Regions from separate parts of the Homo sapiens genome. Here all the other regions are linked to region 1. Evidence: promoter capture Hi-C in human tissues and cell types (Jung and others, 2019). All regions are on one chromosome and are shown on one strand. Each heading gives the region's core, a stretch centred on a gene start or on the middle of the fragment in contact. The rest is flanking DNA. Distances are from core to core; before and after follow the strand shown.

Evidence for each region. The method cuts DNA at HindIII sites, captures the fragments that hold promoters and counts their contacts. A contact is called where the count stands out against the background at its distance.
Region 2: a contact is called between a fragment that was not itself captured here and the fragment with the promoter of FAM169A in region 1, in 1 of the 25 tissues and cell types used here (heart right ventricle).
Region 3: a fragment that was not itself captured here is called in contact with the fragment with the promoter of FAM169A in region 1 in 2 of the 25 tissues and cell types used here (dorsolateral prefrontal cortex and hippocampus).
Region 4: a fragment that was not itself captured here is called in contact with the fragment with the promoter of FAM169A in region 1 in 2 of the 25 tissues and cell types used here (dorsolateral prefrontal cortex and hippocampus).

What each region holds. Positions count from the first base shown.
Region 1 is chr5:74,865,075-74,867,771 of GRCh38, forward strand. FAM169A (family with sequence similarity 169 member A) reads right to left here and starts at 1,313. Exons shown (of 13, transcript NM_001376049.1): 1 at 1,091-1,313. FAM169A-AS1 (FAM169A antisense RNA 1) reads left to right here and starts at 819. Exons shown (of 1, transcript NR_134288.1): 1 at 819-2,201. RefSeq lists silencers at 760-929, 1,000-1,249. The HindIII fragment of the contact is 6,065 bases long and covers 1-2,697 here.
Region 2 is chr5:74,675,596-74,678,292 of GRCh38, forward strand. It overlaps a transcript of HEXB not described here. Among named protein-coding and RNA genes, the nearest start is that of HEXB, 8.3 kb to the right of the region's middle. RefSeq lists a silencer at 2,541-2,697. The HindIII fragment of the contact is 6,960 bases long and covers 1-2,697 here.
Region 3 is chr5:74,695,779-74,698,475 of GRCh38, forward strand. HEXB (hexosaminidase subunit beta) reads left to right here. Exons shown (of 14, transcript NM_000521.4): 4 at 915-961; 5 at 1,218-1,328. Among named protein-coding and RNA genes, the nearest start is that of HEXB, 12 kb to the left of the region's middle. The HindIII fragment of the contact is 9,009 bases long and covers 1-2,697 here.
Region 4 is chr5:74,726,267-74,728,963 of GRCh38, forward strand. The region is part of intron 17 of GFM2 (GTP dependent ribosome recycling factor mitochondrial 2); the gene reads right to left. Among named protein-coding and RNA genes, the nearest start is that of GFM2, 40 kb to the right of the region's middle. The HindIII fragment of the contact is 8,588 bases long and covers 1-2,697 here.

The sequences.
Region 1 (2,697 bases), core at 63-2,562:
CAGCCAGCACTCCCGATTGTAATCCCTGTCTGTGATGCAATGACAAAATATAAATGGCTTGGGTATAATCTGCTCAGTTCGTAAGTAGTAATTCGCAAGAAGCCAACGAATTAAAAGAATTCCCAAATTCTCAGGAACCTTGAAAATGACAAATTGTGTCACAGTTCTGTGAGAATCACAATGAAAACTTTCCCTTCTGGAAATTTTTTAGAAATATGTCCCTCCGGTCCCAATCCCCCAAAAACCCGTACACACGTTTTAATTTACGTTAGGAACGGCTCTCCCAGCGGGGGAAGGTGACCTGCATCAGGTGGTTATCTTCGAATCCACCCGATACGATACCCACGCCGCTTCCCAGACGCTGAAAAGCCAGTGAGATGCTTCATCCTTTCTCCCCAAGGACAGTCATGGGAGTCAGTGTAATCCAGACCCCCGAGCCATAAACCACCCAGGGTTCAAGGCTTCACCTCCTGAGGCACAGGCCTCTTGAAAAATGGCATAATGGAGAGCTGAGAACACAATTAGGACAAAACTGCAACGACCAGCATTCCAGAGGAGGGAGAATCATACAATATCTGTTCCAAAAGTAGTTACAGGTAAAGGAAGGCGGTCAGAGCATCTCTGGAGGCCACCTGGTCGGGTGAACCGAGTCTAAACGCTGAAGTTCCACACCTCCCCGAGTCCGCGTCTCCCCAAGCCAAAGCAATCAGCTCGCACGCCAAGCATCCAGGTGGGGAGAGGGCGAGGGGAGGGGGCGGCAAGCCGCAGCTGCGAACCGGCCCGCGGCGGAGGCGAGCGAAGACGGGCATTCCCTCACACAAAATGGTGGCGCCGAGGCGGAGGCCGGCGCACCTGGGGGCGCCACACGCCCTACGGGATCCCCGCAGACCGCCGCCAGCTGGACGCGAGCCCCGGGTCCAGGCGGCCCGCACTGGTCTGCGCCAGGCCCAGCCCGCAGGGGCCGCCCACAGCCGGTGGCCCGCGTCGCCGCTCGGTGTCCGCGGGTCTGGTGCTGGCGGGGGCGCGGGGCCCGGCGCGGCCGTCTCGGCCTCACCCAGCGGTCCGCGCCGGGGAGAGGGAGCGCACTCACCTCAGACGCGCCCCGGGAGCCGCTGGAAGAGCCCGGGAAAGGAGGCGGAGCCGCGCGAATGAATGGAGCCGGCGGCTGCTCGCTGGCGACCTCCGGCCGGTCCCAGGCCGCACAGCTCGCGGCTGCCAGGGCGAGTGCGGCTGCCTCCCGCTCGCCCCGGACGCCCGGCTCCTCGTCGCGGGTCGGCCGCGGCCCACCGTGCCCTCCGACGACGTGACGCACTAGCGCCGCAGCGCCTCCAGCCTTCGCTTCCGCTCCGCGCCCGCGCCCACCGCGAATCCCCCCGCCCGCCAGCGCGGAGCGGCCCCTCCTCGGAGCCTGGGACGCCGCCCTGCCTCCCTCCAGCCCCGGCTTTCAGGCGCCGGCCCGGCAGGTGCGGGCTTGGCCAGCCCGGGGGCGTCACGCGGCCCCCGCCTCGCCACCCGCGCCCCCTCTCTCCGCCCCGGCCGCCGTCACCCGGCAGCGCGACGCCCAGCTCAGGGCAATGGCCTGGTATTAAAGAGTGACCTTGGCTTAGATATAAAAATAGATGCGGTTAAGCCGCGGGGGCTGCAACGCTGATTTTGCGTATTCCTTTAATGCCGACCTTCGCAGGATTCTGTTCGCATAGCCCGGTGGAGTTCTCCAGCCCCGCGTAGGCCCTCCTGAAATTTACCCAGAGTGGGCGCGGCCATCCCGGCCTCGGGACAGGGGTGCAGAGGGCACGGGCGAGGACCGCCGGCCTCCGCCCCACCACTTTCATCCTAAACCTACTGCCACTTAGGTGCATGCAAGTTAGAATCGTGGGCTGCTTTCACAGTCTACAGAAGTCCTAGAGCCCGGACTTTCATCTGGAGATGTCAGGGAAATACCACATTCCTGCGCTGACCTTTTCTCTTTCACCGTTTAACCGGTACAGAATAACCCTGACCCAGAAAGACAACAGGGTTCCATCCGGCTTTCCTCCCGTGCCTCTCCCAGCTCTATTCTACCGTCTTATGGCCTCTGGCGCCTTTGCTAATTACACACTCCTACTGAAAATTAGCCCTCCAGCATTTAAAACATGATAAATTGTCTTTAAGGTAATGCGTATTGTAGTCTAAATATATTTAATAACTGTATTGAGAAACAATATTGTATCTAAGTATTAATGTCAAGACTTTCTTTTACTCATCATCCAAGAACCGTAGTATTATGTTCAGCTCATCCAGAAAAGTTGAAAATTGCTTCTTTCATTCCTGGGAAATATTTAGCAATCACAATACCAACTTTCACGAATTTACTAATGATTAGCAAAATTAGCAAGATCAAAAAATACTTCAAAGAATGCTTGTTGATATAGATATATTTGACCCTGATTTTTAAAAAAAGCTTTTCTGCCATATAAGAATCTATTGTTTCATTTGTATAATATTTAATTAGCCAAAATCTTTACTATTACACATCATTTACCATTTTAATGAAACTTAATGAATTAGATTTAATAGAGCAGGAATTTTGGGTAGTTGGGTTCTACCCATAGCCAGTGATGAATGAAATTATATGACTTGTATTTACATTTCTAGAGCTATGTGTAAGTAGGAGTCCCCAGGGTAATCCCAAACAATTGCCATTTGGGGAAGCTTTGG
Region 2 (2,697 bases), core at 65-2,564, 190 kb before region 1:
CTGAGGGTGCAAGTGATGTGGTCAGAGAGGTGGTCAGATGCCAGATTCTGCCACACTGTGCAGGCCATATTAAGGATCCTATATTTTATTCTAAAGACAATGGGGAACAAGCCATTGAAATGTTTTAAGCAAGGAAGTGATATGACTGACTTTACATTTTACAAAGATGACTTTGTTAGCTGTGTTTCCACAGCTGACTGGGGTCGGGGGGTGAGGTGGTGGTATAAGCAGCAAGTGGAAAGATCTCTCCAGGCCAACACCTAAAGTTCTACTTCATTCTTGTATAATCTCTCAGAGGAAATTGAGTGGGGAGGGAATCTTATGAATAGCAGCAACAAAAAGAATGAAGCATGCCTAACAGGAAATGTGAAAGACCTAGGTAGAGTATAAGACTTTGGTGACAAGCATAAAATAACTTTATAAATTAACAGAAAGTATTTCTAAGTGGAAAGCCCCAATATGGCAAAGATGTCAGTTTTCTCTGAATTGAGCTATAATGTGAATGCAATTCCTATCAATAGCAGTTTTTGTTTTTTGTTTTGGACCTTGTCAATCAAGTCTTTAATTTCATATGTAAGGAAAAATTATTTTTGTTATTATTATTATTAATACAAGTAGAGGAGTTTATTTGGGCCAAGCTTGAGTAGTGCAACCCAGGAGCATAGATTCAAATTGCCCTGAATATACACTCTGATTACGAACAGTTACAAGTGCACTTTATTTCTTGTAAAGACGGTGTCTCACTATGTTGCCCAGGCTGGTCTCAAACTCCTGGCCTCAAGCAATTAATCTTCCCACCTCAGCTTCTGGACTGAAGTGCCAGTCCAAAGTGCTGGGACTTTAGGCATGAGCCACCATGCCCACATGCAAATTTTTAAAGGGCAAGAAGGGGCTGGGTGCAGTGGCTCACTCCTGTAATCCCAGCACTTTGGGAGCCAAGGTGGGTGGATCGCTTCAGCCAGGAGTTCAAGACCAGCCTGGCCAACATTGTGAAACCCTGACTGTAGTAAAAATACAAAAATTAGCTGGGCGTGGTGGCACATGCCTGTGATTCCAGCTACTCGGGAGGCTGAGGCAGGGGTAGTGCCTGAACCTGGGAGGCGGAGGTTGCAGTGAGCTGAGATTGCACCACTTCACTCCAGCCTTCATGACAGATGAGATTCTCTCAAAAAAAAGGGGAGCGGTGCGGGAAGGTGGAAGAAGGGGCAGTTCCTAGTTGTTTATCCAGAATTTACATTAAAATAACATAAGCTATTGATTGGCTATACATTGTTCTCTGGTTTTTTGTTTGTTTTGTTTTGTTTTGTTTGAGACGGAGTCTCACTCTGTCACCCAGGCTGGAGTGCAGTGGCGGGATCTCGGCTCACTGCAAACTCCACCTCCTGGGTTCATGCCATTCTCCTGCCTCAGCCTCCCGAGTAACTGGGATTACAGGCGCCCGCCACCACACCCCATTAATTTTTGTATTTTTAGTAGAGATGGGGTTTCAACATGTTGGCCAGGATGGTCTCGATATCCTGACCTCGTGATCTACCCGCCTCAGCCTCCCAAAGTGCTGGGATTACATGAGTCACCGCACCCAGCATACGTTGTTCTTTGCATCACAAATTCCAGAAACATGAAGATAATGAATGAAGCAGCTAGAAAAAAACAAAATAAACAATTGCCCCCAAGCATAAAGGGAGGCCAGTTACACATTTGCATGACTAAGTTCCAAACTCTTGCCTCTCTGGGCCTGCAGATTTCACATAGGTCAGACTGCTCTGAGATATTTTCATTTTCTCTGGTGGTAAAGGAGAAATATGATAAATATCAGTTTTACTCTCAGATTCTATTGGGGCAGGACAGCTGTATTGCATTCTATTAAACAGTTTGCATTTCTTTTCTTCTTCTTCTTTTTTTTTTTTTTTTTTTTTTTGGTACTACTCTCAGAGGTCCATGCCAAGTTCAGCTCTCTTTGCCAACACCAGCAATTCAACAGTGCACCTTCATAACAGGTCTTTATTTAATCTTCTTCCTTTCCTGTCTCGCTCTCCCCACTGTCACTGCTTCTTTTTGGAATTATTTTCCAAAGAAACTACCTCAAATTAAGTCTTTTTTTATTATTATTTTTTATGCTTTATTCCAGTAGCTTTTGGGGTACAAGTGGTTTTTTGTTAAAAGGATTAATTATATAGCAGTGAATTCTGAGATTTTAGTGCACTGGTCACCTGAGTAGTGCACAATGTACCTAATGTGTAGTTTTTTTAGCTCCTTTCCCACCCTCCCCTTTCTGAGTCTCCACAGTCCATTATATCGCTCTGTATGTGGAAGGAAAAATTATTTAAAATAGGAAGAAATTTTAGAAATAAAACAATGTGTGTGCATGCTCTTCAAGATATCAAAGCATAACTCAAAATTATAACGATTTAAATAGTGCAGCCAGGAGCAGTGGCTCACACCTGTAATCCCAGCACTTTGGGAGGCCCAGGAGGGTGGATCACCTGAGGTCAGGAGTTCGAGACCAGCCTGGCCAACATGGTGAAACCCCGTCTTTACTAAAAATACAAAAAATTAGCTGGGCATGGTGGCAGACACCTGTAATCCCAGCTCCTTGGGAGGCTGAGGCAGGAGAATCACTTGAACCCAGAAGGCGGAGGTTGCAGTGAGCTGAGATCGTGCCATTGCACTCCAGCCTGGGCAACAAGAGTGAAACTC
Region 3 (2,697 bases), core at 137-2,636, 170 kb before region 1:
TACAATGAGCCGAGATCGCGCCACTGCACTCCGTCCTGGGTGACAGAGCAAGACTCCGTCTAAAAAAAAAAAAAAAAAGATAAAACCACTCTTGCGAGTATGCAGTGACTAGATTTCTAGTCCAAGAAGTCCATATTTTCTGTTTACCATCAGACTTTCAGAGTAATGTACTCTAAACTGATCATTATTGAACGTAATGTCACTTAACAGAAACTTTCAGAGTTATTCTTCCCAGCATGAACCTGTACTTGACGAGGTTGGAGAGACAGGAAGGCGTAGCAAAGATGACTGAACTGTTCTTAGGTTAAAAATTCCCTGGCTATATAGCTGTCAGCTAGAATGAGGAATCTGAATAAAGTCAAGGCCAGTTAGAAGAATTAGCCTGTCAACTAGTATATTAAGGGAATAATCCACTTGAGTAAAAAATGTTCAGAAGGTAGTCTTTGCAGCTATAAGTAAAATGCTGTATATTGTAAATTGGCCTTTATTTATAGTTTCATGGTTTTTCCAGCCATTTTTCCCTGTTGCATTTAGATACCTTCTAAAAGTGACTATATTTGATTATAAAAATTCTTTCTCATGATGCCATAAATTTATTAAGGAACCAGTATTTTATTAAATTACTATTCTTCTTTTGTCTATATTGAAACAACCCCCAGGGTATGGGTACAATGAAGTAAAGCACTTTTATTAGATGAGTAGAGAAGTGCAATGGATTTTTTTTTAATTTGGCTTTGATTTTAGAAATTATGGTAGAGGGTGTAGGTATAACAATATATTTTAGAGGATAGAGGTATAACACTATATTCAATTATATTTGCCTTACCTGGTTATGAGTCTGTTTGAATAATATAACTTTTATCATCTCAATTTGTTGATTTATAAATTAATGCAATAAATTTTACTTTCCTCAGGTTTAGAGACCTTTAGCCAGTTAGTTTATCAAGATTCTTATGGAACTGTAAGTATGATTATTATATGTTACTAAAAATTGTTAGACAAATTGCTAATAGAAAAAAATGTAACCTGTTTAGCTATTGCTTCCTGAAGATTTCATTTCCCCAGATATTTGTCTTAGCCGGTAAATGTAAATTTCATACATTTTTGTTGTTCTAAATTAATATTTTATGAAATGCTTGTATAAATAGATTTAGTCTTCATTGAGTTCAAGACAACAGAAAATTCTAAAACTAAATCAAAATTTTATTTTGTCATAGTTCACCATCAATGAATCCACCATTATTGATTCTCCAAGGTTTTCTCACAGAGGAATTTTGATTGATACATCCAGACATTATCTGCCAGTTAAGATTATTCTTAAAACTCTGGTAAGTAATTACTTCATTCTAATCTGTTGTCTATTCTGAAGATGTCTCCTTTATGTTGTAACTTTATGTTGGTTACTATTGTGTAGTTTGGAACAGGGGAATTTGTATAAGCACTGGGCATTCTTTCCTCAGTTCCTAGGGAAGTGTATTTCCTCAGCTGTGACGTGGAGGTCCCCTTGAGAATCACCCTCCTGTTTTCAGTGCGAGAGCCACGTATAACATGTATTTAGCCAAGACTGTTAAGAGAAGGACAGTTTAAACACTGCCCATTGGCCCTTTACATATACTCCCATTTGTCAAATCATGTGTCTAGACTTTTGATTAGGAATACATGGCCACCCAGGTGCGGTGGCTTACACTTGTAATCCCAACACTTTGGGAGGCTGAGGCAGGTGGATCACCTGAGGTCAGGAGTTCGAGACCAGCCTGGCCAACATGGCCAAACCCCATCTCTACTAAAAATACAAAAATTAGCCAGGCGTGGTAGCGTGCGCCTGTAATCCCAGCTACTAGGGAGGCTGAGACAGGAGAATTGCTTGAACCCTCCCCGGGTGGAGGTTGCAGTGAGCCGAGATCGCACCACCGCACTCCAGCCTGGGCGACAGAGCAAGACTCTGTCTCAAAAAAAAAAAAAAAAAAAGGAATACGTGGCCACCACACCATACTTCTAGTTAGTGCCATTTAAATTTTGTGACCACCTCTTACTTTTTTTGTAAGTGGCATTAGAAAGGAGTCCGGGAGCTCCTTTATACCTAGGGAACTATTCCAAAGGAATATGGAACCTCAGGGGTGGTATGGGTTAGGAAGAAGGTTGACAATAACTGTTTTCTCCTATGGGCTTTTTTTTATTGGTTAATCCCCACCATCACCTGCCAATTTGTAGGGGTGGGGAGGTTTCCTCCCATGTTTTTTTGCACCTTCACTTGATCATTATGATGAAACTATGCTATTTAAAAATTATTATTATTATTATTTATTTATTTATTTTGAAACGGAGTTTCGCTCTTGTTGCCCAGGCTGGAGTGCAATGGCGCGATCTCGGCTCACTGCAACCTCTGCCTGACAGGTTCAAGCAATTCTCCTGCCTCAGCCTCCTGAGTAGCTGGGACTACAGGCATGCACCACCACGCCCAGCTAATTTTGCATTTTTAGTAGAGACGGGGTTTCTCCATGTTGAGGCTGGTCTCGAACTCCTGACCTCAGGTGATCCACCTGCCTTGGCCTCCCAAAGTGCTGGGATTGCAGGTGTGAGCCACCGTGCCCAGCCAAAAATTATTATTATTATTATTATTTTTTTTTCTTTTTAGTTGAAGTCTTGCTCTGTCGCCAGGCTGGAGGGCAGTGGTGCAATCTTGGCTCACTGCAACCT
Region 4 (2,697 bases), core at 131-2,630, 140 kb before region 1:
ACAGTATAAAAATCAGAGTAAAGAGCTCTACCAACAAAGCATCTGCTTCTGTGTTGATCAATGTTAAAAACCTGCTCTGTATCACCTATTGTTTTAACATTAAGATATGTTGAGGCACATGTTACGAAGATTATACTTTTAAACTTTTCAAAATGTCTTGTAGGTGATTGAAATCCTCTTAGTTACAAACTTTTATATTAAAAAAATTAAATGATAAAACCTTTACAAATATAAAAGGTAAGCTAATGAAAATTAAACGACTTTAAATCCTGACAACCCACAAAATGTTTTATATTGTGTATTTTTCCAGCAATATTTTATGCACTTACTGTTTACAATTTCTTTCCCAAAAAACCAGTAAAGTGTTTTTGGTAAGATTGAAAACAGCATCTCTTATTTGCTAAAAACCAACAATCTCCAATATTTTACTATGTCTGTTACCAATCTCCAATATTTTACTAAAACAAAACTATGCCATATTTATGTGAGGGACCATGTAATGCAGTGATTCATGGCCCAAATTCAAAACTAAGAATTATAGTCTATAATTCTTCATAATTCCTTTGTATGCTTACGTTTTATACTGTGAAACATTTTCTATTTAAAATTATACAGGCTGGATGTGGTGGCTTACACCTGTAATCCCACCCAGCACTTTGGGAAGCCAAAGTGGGAGGATTACTTGAGGCCAGGAATTTGAGACTAGCCTGGGCAATATAGCAAGACTCCGTCTCTGTAAAAAATAATAAAAATTAGCTGAGTATGGTAGTGCACACCTGTAGTCCTAGCTACTTGGGAGACTGAGGCGGGAGGATTGCTGGAGCCCAGGAGTTCAAGGCTACAGTCAGCTAAGATCTTGCCATTGTATGCCAGCCTGCTCAACAGAGCAAGACATTGTCTCAATATATACATGTTTATATATAAATATACGTTTATATATGAGTATATACATATTTATGTACAAGCTAAAAATGAGCATTCATGAAACCTAAAACTACTAAAGAGAGTATTACCAATATTTAGATGCCTTCTGAAGCAACCACTATCATATGTTATCCTCATTATTTTCTTTAGTGTTATATCACATATGCATGTATTTCTAAGCAATAGTTTACTTCTGCTTCATTTTAAATTTGTTATGCCATATGTATACGGCAACTTTTTTGTTCTATGTGTTTGGGAGAGTCGTCTGCACTATTTTCCGACTCCAGCCCTACTCCCCAACTTCTAACAGTCAGCACTTGGCATTCCACTATGAGGAAGACCCCTCCCTCTTCTTCCCTATTTACCTATGTATTATTATAAGTATGAACTTAGAAACTATTTTTTCCCAATGGTCTATACTTGGTATTCAAATTAATCCAGATTTGGCCAGCAGAGTCTCTTCAAGCTGGTTCCTGTGTCCTTATATACCCCCTCACCATCATTTTTTGACCATTTCCTCTCTCACACATAGCATGATATTCCATTATCCTTTCTTATGTTTTATTTCATTTTTAATTAACAAATAATTGTATATATTTATGGGGTATGTGATGTTTCAATACATGTATACATCGTGGAATGATAAAAATCAGGCAAATTAACATCTATCATGTCAAAAAACTTATTTCTTTGTACTGAGATTTAAAATATAAATTATTAACTATAGTCACTGTGCTGTGTAACAGATCATGAGAACCTATTTCTCCTGTCCAGCTGAAACTCCGTACCCCACTTCATCAACATCTCTCCTTTCCCCAGCTTTCCAATCCTCAGCCTCTGGTAGCCATCATTCTACTCTTCTACAAGTTAGACTTTTAAAAGTTCCACATATGTGAGATCATGCCCATCGCACCTATTTTTGATCGTTTCTTGTTCCTTACTAACACAAGTGGCCCTTGAATAATGTGGGGGCTAGGCGTGCTAAACCCCCATGCAGTAAAAAATACATGCCTAAATTTTGACTCCCCTGAAACTTAACTACTATAGAATACTGTTAACAGGAAGACTTACCAACAAATAAACAGTCAATTAACACGTTACATGTATTTTATATTGTATTTTTACAATAAACTAGAAAAAAAAGTTACCAAGAAAATCGTAAGAGAAAATATATTTACTATTTATTAAGTAAAAGTAGAACATCATAAAGGTCTTTATCCTCGTCATCTTTGCACTGAATAGCCTGAGGAGTAAGAAAAGGAGGGGTTTGGCTTGCTGTCTGAGGGATGGCAAAGGCAGGACAATAATCCATGTGTAAGTGTACCTGCATACATACTTTAAACCCATGTTGTTCAAGGGTCAACTGTACTTTCTATCGCCTCTCTTATTTCTTCAAAGATAGTATTTTATATTCTACATCTCATAATTCCAATAACTGAAGCCTTTGCTGGTATGACTACCTATTGTTTCTATTGCCTTTTTGCTCATTGTGCTTTTTCTCATGGTTTTCTGATTTAATTTTATTATGAGTTAATATTCTTTTATGTGTGGGGGTTTCTTTTTTTTTTTTTTTTTTTTTTTTTTGAGATGGCGTCTCACTCTGTTGCCTGGGTTGGAGTGTAATGGCACGATCTCAGCTCACTGCAACTTCGCCTCTGGGATTCAAGCAATTCTCCTGCCTCATCCTCCTGAGTAGCTGGGATTATAGGCACTCGCCACCATTCCCAGCTAGTTTTTGTATTTTTAGTAGAAACGGGGTCACCATATTGGCCA